3 separate regions of the Homo sapiens genome follow, and all the other regions are linked to region 1. The links are contacts of gene promoters, found by promoter capture Hi-C in human tissues and cell types (Jung and others, 2019). All regions are on one chromosome and are shown on one strand. The core of a region is centred on a gene start or on the middle of the fragment in contact, and the rest is flanking DNA. Distances in the headings are between cores, read along the strand shown. Region 1 holds the start of C9orf153 (chromosome 9 open reading frame 153). Region 2 overlaps NTRK2 (neurotrophic receptor tyrosine kinase 2). Region 3 overlaps NTRK2 (neurotrophic receptor tyrosine kinase 2).

Region 1 (4,269 bases), core at 1,770-4,269:
GACCCACCAGAATGATTTTTTTTTTCTCAAACAGGAAAGGGTTGGGAACAATCCCTACAAGATCAGATGTCCCTAAGATTTCCAGTATTTCCTAGGTTTCACTCAGCAGGAAATACCTCAAAAAAAAAATGGCCTTTCTTGTCATGTTTTGATACCTGAGAAATCAGGAAATGGAAAAGCCTGTGCTAAGCTGAGCTGTAAGCAACATCAGTGTCTCATTTGAGCCTTAGAGCAGACGTGGCATGGGCCAGACACAGCATCGACCCAGAATAAACCCAAATACAGCTCACCTGAGCTCAGTGCAGGCTGGGAGGCTGGCCTGGAAAGGTGTAGGTTTGGGGTGAGATATGCCTGGATTTGAATCATGGTTCCTGTCATTTTGTAGCCATGTAACCTTCTGTAAAACAGTCTCAGAATTTGGGGGGATGTGATGAGCTAACTACACATAAATGGCATCCTGCTAAGGGTAGACGTTTCATACGTTGTAATTCTTGTCCCTTTTAGCCATTTTCTTGTGCAAAAAGGGATAATATGTTAATGGATTATCAATCAAAGCAAGAGCTTAGGGAAAGAGTTTCAACACATTTAGGGAGTTATTGTCCCATATTCAAATCTGGGGGAAATTTGCTGTATTTCCTTCAAATAAAAGACCACAGTAACTTCTTTGAAAAGAACCATAAATTTCAAATATAAACATTCGGAGAAATTTCATTCTCTTAGTAGCTGATTAACTATAGACAAACCTGCCTTAATTGAGGAGCTGTTTTGAAAGCTCATTCCCCAGTAGGAACTCAATCTCCTGGTCCCAGGTGGGTCTCATCAGACAAGAGATGGAGGAGAGAGGGAGGTGCACCCTAGCCTCAGCCTCTATTGAAATACAGAGCCATGTGGTGGTTACATCACTGTGGACTCCCATCCTCCCTTGCTGCTGTGCAGTGTTCAGGGAAGGCTTCATTTCACACCAACCTTTAGCGGGGCAAGGGCTCTGTACCAGCGGTACTCAGCTTAAAACTAGCCTACTTTGAGGGCCTTGATGGGTTACTGCTTTTACTTCCACTAGCTAGTGATTCCGAAACTTTTCATGATGAAGTGCCCATTTATTGGGCCAGGTGTGTTGGCTCAAGCCTGTAATCCCAGCACTTTGGGAGGCAAAAGTGGGCAGATCACCTGATCCCAGGAGTTCAAGACCAGCCTGGGCAACGTGGTAAAACGCCGTCTCTACAAAAAATACAAAAATTAGCTGGTCATGGTGGTACATGCCTGTAGTCCCCGTTGCTCAGGAGACCAAGGTGAGAGGATCACTTTAGCCCAGGAGGTAGAGGTTGCAGTGAGCCAAGATCGTACTACTGCACTCCAGCCTGGATGACAGAGCAAGACCCTGTCTCAAAAAAAAAAAGAATAAAAAATAAAGTACTCATTTTTTGTTCTCCATGGATTCTATGTCTTGAAGCAGTCCTCAAACTTTAAGGTGCAAATAAGTCACCTGGGGGTCTTGTTAAAAAGCAGATTCTTGGCCGGGCGCAGTAGGTAGCTCACGCCTGTAATCCAGCACTTTGGGAGGCTGAGGCGAGTGGATCACTTGAGGTCAGGAGTTCGAGACCAGCCTGGCCAACATGGTGAAACCCCATCTCTACTAAAAATACACAAAAATTAGCCAGACATAGTGGTGGGCGCCTCTAGTCCCAGCTACTCAGGAGGCTGAGGCAGGAGAATCACTTGAACCTGGGAGGTGGGGAGGTTGCAGTGACATGAGATGGCACCACTGCATTCCAGCCTGGGTGACAGAGCAAAACTGTCTCAAAAAAAAAAAAAAAGCAGATTCTGTAACAAAGGTCCAGGGCAGAGCCTGAGATTCTGCATTAGTAGCAAAGGCCCAAGTGAAGCCAGTGCTGTTGCTCTGCAGAACACCTTTGAATGGCAGGCTTTTGAAATATTTTCTCATTGGAAGAATCTTCTGTATTTATTAAATTCTGCTTAAAATTATTAACTTTCTTGTATATCCATGTTCATAACAGCATTATTCACAATAGCCAAAAGGTAGGAACAACCCAGGTGTCCATTGACAGGGGACAGGGGGTGAGAAATTTATTTCATGGACACAGATTCAGGTGGAAAAGATGAAAAAGCTCTGGAGATGGAAGGCAGTGCAGGTGGCACAACAATGTGAATGTACTGAATGCCACAGAACTGTGTACCTAAAACGGCTTAACACGGTAAGCTTCATGTTATGGATATGTTGCCACGGTGTTCACAAGTTATTAACTCAATCAGACTATTTAAATGCCCAGTAGATTGCATTCTGGGGAAATGGCTGTTTCAGGAAAATTTTCAGTGATTGCCACAGGGACCTCCCATGGGTGGGGAATGGAGTCTGGAGCACGGCTGCATGGCTCATGGAGAGAATTTGCACAGCCAGGTAGCCCCTGGTCCACTTCTACCCATATCTGGCCAGGTGCAAAGAGCATAGCTGTACCTTCTATTATCTCTCTCAATTTCTTATTTGCACTTTGCCCATGTCTATAGAAGGAAAAACTTGACTGATTAAAAATTACATTCACGGCACCTGTAGTCCCAGCTACTCAAGAGGCTGAGGCAGGAGAATGGCGTGAACCCGGGAGGCGGAGCTTGCAGTGAGCTGAGATCGTGCCACTGCACTCCAGCCTGGGCGACAGAGTGAGACTCCATCTCAAAAAAAAAAAAAAATTATACTCACGCCAGCCTGGGCAACATGGCGAAACCCCATCTCTAGAGAAAAATACATAAATTAGCCAGGCGTGGTGGCGTGCGCCCGGGGTCCCAGCCACAAGCTGAGGCAGAAAAAAAAGTAGCTACTCAGCTACTCAATGTTCACTCTTTAAAAATGCTTTTCCATCATCCTCCACCGTCTCCCACCCCCCACCAAGCAGCAAGATAATTCCCCATCGCTTAGCATCATATAGCTGCTTATGTGACCTTGAGAATGTCCACATGTCACAATGGACAGTCACTTAACACTAAGCAATGACACATGCTAGGAGTGGGGCTGGGCCTTGGGGCTGCTGGATGAATGAGACCCAGCCTCTGCCCTGGGAGTGCAGAGACTCAAGACAGATATGACCACGTGAAGAGACAACTGTAAAACAAGTGGTAAGTGCATCTACAGCCATAGCCACGGGGCACTGTGAGACCACAGAGCAGTGAAAACTAAGCCAGTCTAGGCTTGGCAAGGAGAGATGGAGTGAGGTGGGCAGTGGCTAAGGTGGGAAGACCAGAGCTGGGAGGTGAGATGGGATTTGGGTTTATCTTTACCAATAAGGATGAGGAGCCTGTTTCATCTTCCTCCAGGCAGGTCACAGAAGCTGGAACCAGTTGATCGGGCCGAGCCTGCAGACTCCCTCATCCTTTCCGGCCTTCAACACTGATAGCTCTGCTCTCTCTCCCCAACCTCAGTGCCTTCATCCTCCCCTGTGTTCCCATGGATGCTTGGTCCTGACTTTGCACCTCTCCCTCACACCCAGTGTCCTTTGTTTTTCCTCTGCCACTTGGGAGGCTGATGGGAGGATCACCTGAGCCTGGGAGGTTGAGGCTGCAGTGACCTGTGTTCACGCCACTGCACTCCAGCTGGGGTGACAGAATGAGAGCCTATCTCAAAGAAAAAAAAAAAACACTGCTCTGTATGATACTATCAAAGTGGATATATGTAATTGCACATTGTGAAATCTCATAGAATGCACAACACCAAGAATGGACCGTAATGTAAACTGTGAAGTATGGGCTTTAGTTAGTAACCATGCATTGATACCGGCTCATCAAGTATAACAAACGTACCACACAAACATAAGTAGTAAAAAAAAAAGGGGAAAGCTGTGTGTATGGTGCAGAGAAGGGGGGTTGTGGGAACATTGTACTTTCTAACCAATTCTAAAATTGCTCTAAAATTTAAGTATATTAATATTTTTAAAAAAAGTTTCGTTAAATTAGCAATATAATAGTTGCTTACCCAAGAAAATTCAGGTTTTCAAATATTGCGTTTTAAAAGCAATTATTTCCGGATGTGAGGGTGATCTGGCTGCAACATCTGTCACCCCACTGATGGCCAGGGTTAATTTGTCTGATCTGGCTGGCTAGGTGGATGTCTCCTTCCTCCCTCATCCGTCCACATGCGTCCTTCCAGACGCTGCGGACAACCTTCCCCAACAGAGGAGGGCCGTTCTTTGGGCAAGGGTATATGAGTAGCTGCACTCCCCTGCTAGAACCTCCAAACAAGCTCTCTAAAAGTAATTACTTCAA
Region 2 (4,023 bases), core at 1,101-3,600, 1.3 Mb after region 1:
GGTTTTCTCACTTATTAATTCCCCACTACATAGAGGAGGATTTAGCTTGCACTATCTCTTATCTCCTCCCAAGAATTGGGAGTTGCATTATTTTTCATTCTTCTATTAACTATCTTTCATCCTTATATCTTTATTCCAGCCATATCCTGACACTACTTTCCTGAATAGCTCTTATAAGAATATAAGAACAGTGCAGGCAGGAAAGACAAAGGCTGTATAAAATCAGTGGAATATTACTATAGCCTGTCCCCAGAAGTCAAATAACCCTTTCTCTGCAGCCACCAGATGTATTTTTTTTGTCCCCTGCCTCTTTACACCCTCCATATCAATGAGTTGCAAAATCTCTGGTGTGAACTCATGTCAAGAATCACTGGTGTTAAAAGTAGTTTATGAGCTGAGGGCAGATTTATAAAGTGAGAGTCACAGTGCTTGGGTTCCTCTCCTCTGTCTTGAGATAAGGACTTGTTTTGTATGCTTCTGTCAGCTGGAAGACTGCCACACTTTGCAGTCCATGCTACAAACTCAGCTTTTGAGGATAGTAATAAGAACTGTACAACAAAGTCACATTTACCTAATCATACTGCTTCAGAAAAAAGAGAATTACTCCACCCATTGGGCTTTGGGGTCCTTTGGGGTCCTGGTGAAGATACTGCAGAGGGTCAGACTAATCTGGCTGCTGTTATGGCTCCCACATTTTGTCATGAAGTCCCTTCTCCTGGGAGAGCTTCAGTGATGCTATTATGCAGGGAACTACTTACTCTGGGTGATAAAAAATTCTGTTCTTATATGTTAGTATGAACCATTTACATCTGGGATTGGCATGGTCTAAAGTATTAAAATGGCATCAAATATTCCGAGTAGATTATATTGGAAAAATTCACTCAAGAATAAGCCAATGTTAAATTATACTGGAATTTATGCTGAAGTTGAGGAAGTAATCTGCTGATGACACTGTCCCTGTGGGGATGGCTGAAAGATTCTAATGCTTCCAGCAGCACCTCCTTAGAAAGGTATTGAAGAAATCCCTTTAGATTGGTGAGGTGAGGGCATCAGTTGGCCTCTTACCCATAACGGTGAAGTGAAGGGCAATGTAAGTCCTAATGGATGAGATTTTTCAACGGATTTCTGGAAGGGAGATGGGGGCATGGCTTCCATGTTAATGCATGAAACATAGAGTAGAAGAATTCTCACCTCAGAACATGCTGTAGTGGAGTCAGCAGTAGAGGCAGGACTGCCCCATTTGGTGGAGGCTAGAATAGCTCCAGGCTTGGGGCCAGCAGGTGCAACAGACGGAAGGAGTGGGAAAGAGCTTAAGCACAAAGGAGGGACAACTGGATGAGTGGTGTGCACTGCCACATCCAGTCTGGAAGCATACCAGATAGCCTGTTATTTATCCTTAGGCCAAAAAGAGACAGGTCTCAGTCTCGCCCGCGTGGACAAGGCTCTAGGGAAAGCCTGACCTGTCAAGAGAATTAAACCATCTGCAAAGAAAGTGAGGACCTAACATTGAACTCAGGTCTCTTCTCTGATCTAGGGTCCCCCAACCTAAGACTACTTCAGTCAACCAACAGTATTTGTAAAGAGAAAAAAAATGTCCCTCCACCTTATGAATGTGAATGTAATTATAATGAAATGAACAGGAGTGAGATCCTTGCTAGCCAATATAAAGCCACCCTTGCTGTACAAGAACCAATGAGACAAAGTAGGAAAAGTGAAAACCACAGAGGAAAGCGTCCTAGAGGCAGGGGTCTGGTGGTGATAAAGTGGAGACTGAAAATGACCACAATTTTCAGGCAAGGAATAAGAGGCAGAATGGAAGCTTCAGTTCAATTGTGGCCATCAACTAACTACGTGACTTACAGAAATTCACTTACTGTATTTGTTCCCTTTGATTTCCTTTTTCTAGGTGCAAAGTGGGAATAAAAATACCTGATCCTCACAACCTCATGAGGCACTGGAGAGAACAGAATGGTAATCCTAATAAAAAGCACTCTGAACAATGAAATGTACAATAAATGTTATATGGTGCGGCCACTGCTATTTAGCAATTTGGCCCTCAAGATTACACAATGGCTCACAGATATATTTTCCTGGTTCAACTTAAGTTAAATATTACAGACAAACTACAATAATAATGGGGCCTTCTGTTCTCGCAGCACTTGAAGGCTCATAAAGTACTCTCACATGCAATTTTATTTGAGCATTAAAATGACTCGGTGAAATGGGCTGTGAAAATATCTTGAGTTCCATTTTACAGCTAAGGGAACAGAGGCTTAAAGAGGTCAAGGGCCCATTCAAGGCTACATGACTTGTCAGTTAAAGAGCCAGGCCTTAAACTTGGCCTTTCAATTCCAAGTTCAATATTCTGTACACAAGAGGAGCATACTAGGCATTCTGGAGACTAAGAATCAAGAAAGCAAAAAGTTCATCCTGGAGATGAAGCTTTGTAGATAAGACACTAATATCACTGCAAGAAACTAGACTAAAAACAGTGCCAAGCATTTGCCTACTAGAGTGATAGGAACTCAAGAAAGAAGCTGATGTGGATGGTAACTATCGGAAAGGCTTTATAGACACAAAAGGGTCTAAGGTGAGATGTGAAAAATGTATTTATCTGAATGGGCAGAGAGGCAAAGTAGGGATCTTAAAAAAAGGCAAATAGCAAGGCACCGAGGCAGGGTGGTAGGACTAGGATTCCTCTGCTCAATCAGGGGTATGACGCAAGGTGGTGGCATGTAAGTTTCAATGTATGTGTAGATAGGGGACCAGACCATAGAGAGCTTGAAGGTTAGATGAAGGGGTCTAGATTTGATTGTATAAGCAGATGGGAGCTATTGCAGGTTCCTTAATGAGGGAATGGCATTATCTAAATAGCATATCATCTGGTAGCAATATGCATGGTGTATTAAATGAAAGTGCCCAGAAGCAGAGAAACAAGCTAGAAGGTTGTTGCATTAATAAAAGCATTATCATGAAGTTCTAGATTATAGTGGTAGTGATGAAAATAAAAGGGAAGCTATAAATTCTAACAGCCAAGTGATTTTATAATCGGAACGAAAGAATTATTCACTCGGCTACCATACGCAACATGACTCTCAGGAACATAAATAGCTTTCTCAATCATATTTTCCCTTAACCATGCTGCCAAATTAAGTGATCACAGAGTTGCCAAAGCAAAGAGTTTGTTAAAAAACATATAAATTTGTCATAAAAGATCCCTTATTTCATCCATTGGTCTTCTATCCCAGGCTTTTCAGAAGTAAAAAGATTACACTCATGCATAAACACTGTGTGGATCCCCTTCAGACCTCCCCAGTGCAAATAACCATGGAGTCATGGTATGTGAATCCCTGCATCTAATGTCAGAAGGTGTGGTCATGTGTCACCTTTCACTGGACCCATGTCAGGCAAGGACATGCAGGTGAAGACAGGTGCAGAAGCAGATGCAAAGAAGCCCCCATTGTGGAGCAAAGGACAGGGGCAAAGGAGGCAGAAAAGAGGTAGGAAGACATCAATGCATATGACAATGTGTATGATGGCCAGCCAGTTCCTAATACCTGATTGCTTGGCGCTGTTGGAGTCTTGGTTCCTGATACTGCCTTTCCAGCACCTGTTATGTGAAGCCCTGCTCCAAAGCAAAAGAATGAATGAATGAAAACTGTGCCTTTCTGTTGCTTGACAAGTGGGTTCACAGACGTGATTGTATTTGAACATAGCTACAGCCTCCACTTTTGTAAGTCAATTGTAATAAAGACTTACTTCCCCTTTAAATTTCAATTGCAGTGCTGTGCTTTCCATTCTCTCTTGATTTCGGTGTGTGGGCACACCCAGACACCTCACAGGCTGCACTGACAGCTGCTTGCCAGTCAATGAAGTCACATTACTCTGTCATGAGGATGTGTGAAATAAGCTGCCTCCCAGGAGGTGGGCAGAGGCATTCAGGACGCAATCAATGCAAACAGGATTTTTCTCTCTCTGGCGCCTGACTGTTTTGTTGGCTCATTGAGCAGAGGAGTGAACAAG
Region 3 (4,318 bases), core at 1,740-4,239, 1.4 Mb after region 1:
AATCCCCCAACCCAGCAACCCTTCACATAGCTCCGCCCTCACACCAAAGTTCTTCCTCATACTGAGACAAGTGGAGGCACAAAGGCCCTCAATGACATGAATCCTCAAAGAGAACTAAAGAGGACACTGAGATGTTAACGCCAAGAACTATGCCGATGAATCAGCCATTAGACTCAAATCTGGCTAAGATCCACTTTACTTAAAAACTCAGGATGTAATATGTAGGAAGTGGCAGAGCATATACACAATCCGAGAAGGAAAGTGTGATTGATTCAGGACATGAGTGATGATCTTATTCTGCCTGCTACTTGGCCACTGTCTCCCTCCCCAAAGCTCAGGAGTATGGAAATCAATGGCATAGCTATGTATCACCAATATCTTACTAAGAAAATGAGTGTTTTCCTCTTTAAAATCCAATGTCCATAAAAATCTAGGTAGAATTCAGTGAAATCAAAAATCTCACATGTAAAAAGAGGAATTTTGCCATCAACCCAGAACAAAGACTCCTAAAAGGGAAAAAGACAGACTAAATGTATACATTCTGACAGCACTTGGAAAAGAAAGGCTAGCCTTCTAAATAAGGCTCAAGCAGCTACATGTATTGATAATTGTTTCTGTAGATATCAGGAAATGGCACTAATGAAATTAGGAACTAGGAAGAAATGTGATCATTAGCATCATAGTTCCTGAACCCTAATACATATGGAAAAAAATGGGAGGATGGAAAAATCATGTGGGTAAAGATATTGATGTTTATGGAAGTAAAACCAAGATAGAGAAAATGTGAGACCAGTTAGTCCATCTGGCTCAAGTACTCTATTAATAGAAGGTAAGAACATGAGTTCTGATCCTGGGTAAAGCAGTTAGTGCCTCTCTATTCCTCAGTAGTAGACTGAAGACCAAATGACTTGCAAAAGTAAACTCTTTGGGTGTTGCAGGGAAGGGGAGTAAGTATTGAGCATGAAAACATAAATGGATCTGAAAAGTAATCATTCCTGTAGGAAAACAATTCAGGTGGCTGCTTAGTGGTGCCATCTCTGCTTATTTTATAAGCAGACATTTCATGTAATCTCTAGTAAAGGCATTCCCTAAAGTGGAGACTAGCTGTTTTGATATAACTGCACACTATAGGGCTTTATCCTGTCCTCTCTATATCAACCACTTTATTGGAAATTTAGGAATATGGCACTCAGTCCAAATGCCATTATTATCTAATGAGGAGCTTGGGTTCCACTTTAATGCACCCAAAAGTTCAATGGCATGGTTAAAAAATGTGTTAATTAATAGTAACAGCATAAGAAAGAATATTGATCTCTACCCATATACAGTAATGAATAAAAATAATATATAGAAACTAGGATTATATTATTGTTTTCTTTCTGGGATTCCCCCCTGCCTTTGGTTCTGAAATCACACATATCTAATCTCTTACATCACAGGAACTTATTCATTTGAACTCATTTTTATAATCTCTTAAACTTAATATTACTGTGCAAAATATCAACACTAACATATTATTGGATGTCATACTATTGATAGAGGCCTCCTTGCCAGAACCCCAGTCTAGGTCTAGAGGCCTGAGACATCAGGAGAGGAAGGAAGGCTTTCATGATGAAAGATCCGGGGATCACTGGACAGCAAACTCCATCAAGTTTAAGCAAAGCTGGGAGTGACCAAAAGGAGACTCCAGCTATCAGAGGTCCTTGCACAGCCAAGGTATCCTTGATGGAAGTGAAGGCATCCCTAAACATCAGGAAATGTATGAGATGTAACTAGTTTGGCCCTTTAAGATCCAGCATACTCGGCTCTTTGAAAGGAGCTAGCTAGGGTGAAGAACTTGGAGGCAAAAAGTGATCATCTGCTTCAGTTGAGCAATAAACTGCATTTGGAGTTATCTGGAGTGATGACCCTAAATGAGAGCTCTCAGCCTGCCTTGTCAGAACAAGAGAGCCTCTCATTTCCTGAGTCTTTCCAGCGCATAACACAGGCCTCATGTGCTCTGTGATACTTACCATATGAGAGTCTGACGTGGCCAGCTATGGCCAGACCCCCGCTCTTAACCCCTGCACATCTCCAAGGAAATACAAAATACAAAACTGGGAATAATACACCCAATGTGCTTCCTACACACTGTGCAGCACAATCTCCCCAAAGTGAGCCATTACTATAGAAATATTAACAGAGTCCAGTACAAACAAATGCAAGGACACATATGGTCAGACTTTATATTACAAGAGATTAAAAGGATATCCACAAGACTAGAAAGCCATATATCCAAACGATATCAGTGGTTAACTCTAACTGGTGGAATTACATGGGACTTTTCGTTTCATCTTTGTTTCTTATGTTTTCCAGGTTTTCTACTAAATCTACATTATTTATTCTTATTTTAAAATACCCATTTTAGGGCACTTGAAGGCATTTTGGGTGAGGAAGACAATCCTATCTTACTAGCAAAAATCATTGGGCCTATACCAACTGGGATTGACCAACTCATTCCAGTCTGTTTAGGACTGTCCTGGTTTTAAAAATGAAAGTTTCACATAACAGGAACTGCCTCAGCATTCTCTCACTGACAGGAAGCAAACCCAAACAAAGGGCAGAATGGATTCATCTCCTCCTCGGGCTGCTCTCTCAGTCTCAGAGGGCAGTGGCTCTTGCTTCCAGTTAGGGGCTGAGTCCAAGGAGAGAGATTCCTTTATGTGGCAACCAGGTTGAACTAAGAAGTAGCTCTCTCCCCATTTCCTTCCTGGCCGTGGGTTAGAGAAAGTGTTTCTTCTCTTGCCATTCAAGAGAAAGAAGAACAATCAAGAAAAACTAAACAAAAACAAACAAAAACCCACTACAACCTCAGCAATCAACCTCAGAGCAGCATCACAGCTCCCCAGGAAGGAGACCTGGCATGACAATTAATCTGAGAAGAAGCCCAGCTACGGTGGTTACTCTCACAGGCTGGCAGAATTAGTAAAGACAGAGAAAAGCTGCATTTCCCAGGGAGAAAACCTTCACTTTGTTATAATAGCTGCCGTAAAGGATTGAGCCTCACATCCAAGAAAAACTCCGGTGGTGCCATCTCTACTTAACCAGAGGGAGCACTCAATTGTTCAAAGCACCTGGGTAGCAGGAGCTTCTTAGCAACATAGGAGGCTACTCTGCAACTGTGTTTGCTCAGCTGGTCCTGGTCCACAATCTACTAGCACATGCAAGAGTGGCCAATCCGAAACCAAAATGGGGGCGTAGCTTGATTGGATTCATCCTGTTGGTACACACACTCCAGTCAGGCTGGGCCTTGGGAAATACCCAGAACAAATACATTAGGATCCTCCATCTGCTGGGATGCTTCTAGAACATCACTGATGCTTTGGTGAAATTGGACTGAAATGTCTGATATGTGCAGGATGCAGAACTCCATCTTGGTTGGCCGATGATGAGGGAGTAAACACAGTCTTCAGAATATCACTCTGTCTCCCTGACCTAAATCCATAATCTTTATTTTTGTTTTTCTTTTCAGACACCAAGCTTAGGACTGGAGTGTTTCCTCTAGGAGGTCTAAGTATACTATACTTGGGTGATATTTCTCTTTTGATAACAAAGAATAATATTACCCAATGGTCAGATGCTAAAAACATGATTTTACTTCACTGTGAGTGTGCTTGAAACTGGTTTGCTAACAAATCTTCATCTCAGTGCGGCTTATAATAACATGGCTTACATTTTAAATGTAATTATGCAGCATGTATTCATTTCCTTTCTTTTAAGAAACTCAAGTTGCTTTTTTAAAGCATTATTTGATAGCTTCTTATCATCTCCTTTGGAGTTGAAAAGGGAATATGATATCAAATTGTTGTAGCTAGCAATGGGGGGGCCGTGGCACTGAGAGGGGGAAGGAATTGTATTGGGACCTGCAGAACAGCAGCAATGTGCCATGAAGGCTCCCACGAGATGAGTCGTCAACCCAGTGTGCCATAAAAGAAGCAATTTTTAAGGATCCTAAAATAAGTGCATTCTCTGTCCTAATGCTCGTGCTGGGCAGAATGGACTTAGCTTATTTTTAAAGTGCAGGCCATGGCCTTCCAAGGCATACAAACAACTCCCAAAGCAGCCATTATTTGGCCAATTAAACAATTAGGAGAAAATATATTTTTGAAAGACAAAACATTAATAGGCAAAGTACAGAAGGAAGCGCTAAAGCAATTGTTTCTACCCGTTTTTCAGTCCTACCTCTGACCATCAAAATGGACCATGGTCATTCGATTGCACTGAAGTCTGCAGATAATCTCTGGTAACTCTGAGGGGCCCCGCACTCTTTGATCTAATG

What was found. The method cuts DNA at HindIII sites, captures the fragments that hold promoters and counts their contacts. A contact is called where the count stands out against the background at its distance.
Region 2: a contact is called between a fragment that was not itself captured here and the fragment with the promoter of C9orf153 in region 1, in 1 of the 25 tissues and cell types used here (dorsolateral prefrontal cortex).
Region 3: a contact is called between a fragment that was not itself captured here and the fragment with the promoter of C9orf153 in region 1, in 1 of the 25 tissues and cell types used here (dorsolateral prefrontal cortex).

Annotation. Positions count from the first base shown.
Region 1 is chr9:86,258,407-86,262,675 of GRCh38, reverse strand. C9orf153 (chromosome 9 open reading frame 153) reads left to right here and starts at 3,019. Exons shown (of 4, transcript NM_001276366.4): 1 at 3,019-3,126. It also overlaps the pseudogene RN7SKP264. The HindIII fragment of the contact is 6,872 bases long and covers 1-4,269 here.
Region 2 is chr9:84,917,778-84,921,800 of GRCh38, reverse strand. The region is part of intron 14 of NTRK2 (neurotrophic receptor tyrosine kinase 2); the gene reads right to left. Among named protein-coding and RNA genes, the nearest start is that of NTRK2, 250 kb to the right of the region's middle. The HindIII fragment of the contact is 4,235 bases long and covers 233-4,023 here.
Region 3 is chr9:84,873,051-84,877,368 of GRCh38, reverse strand. All of the region lies in intron 14 of NTRK2 (neurotrophic receptor tyrosine kinase 2), which reads right to left. Among named protein-coding and RNA genes, the nearest start is that of NTRK2, 210 kb to the right of the region's middle. The HindIII fragment of the contact is 6,869 bases long and covers 1-4,318 here.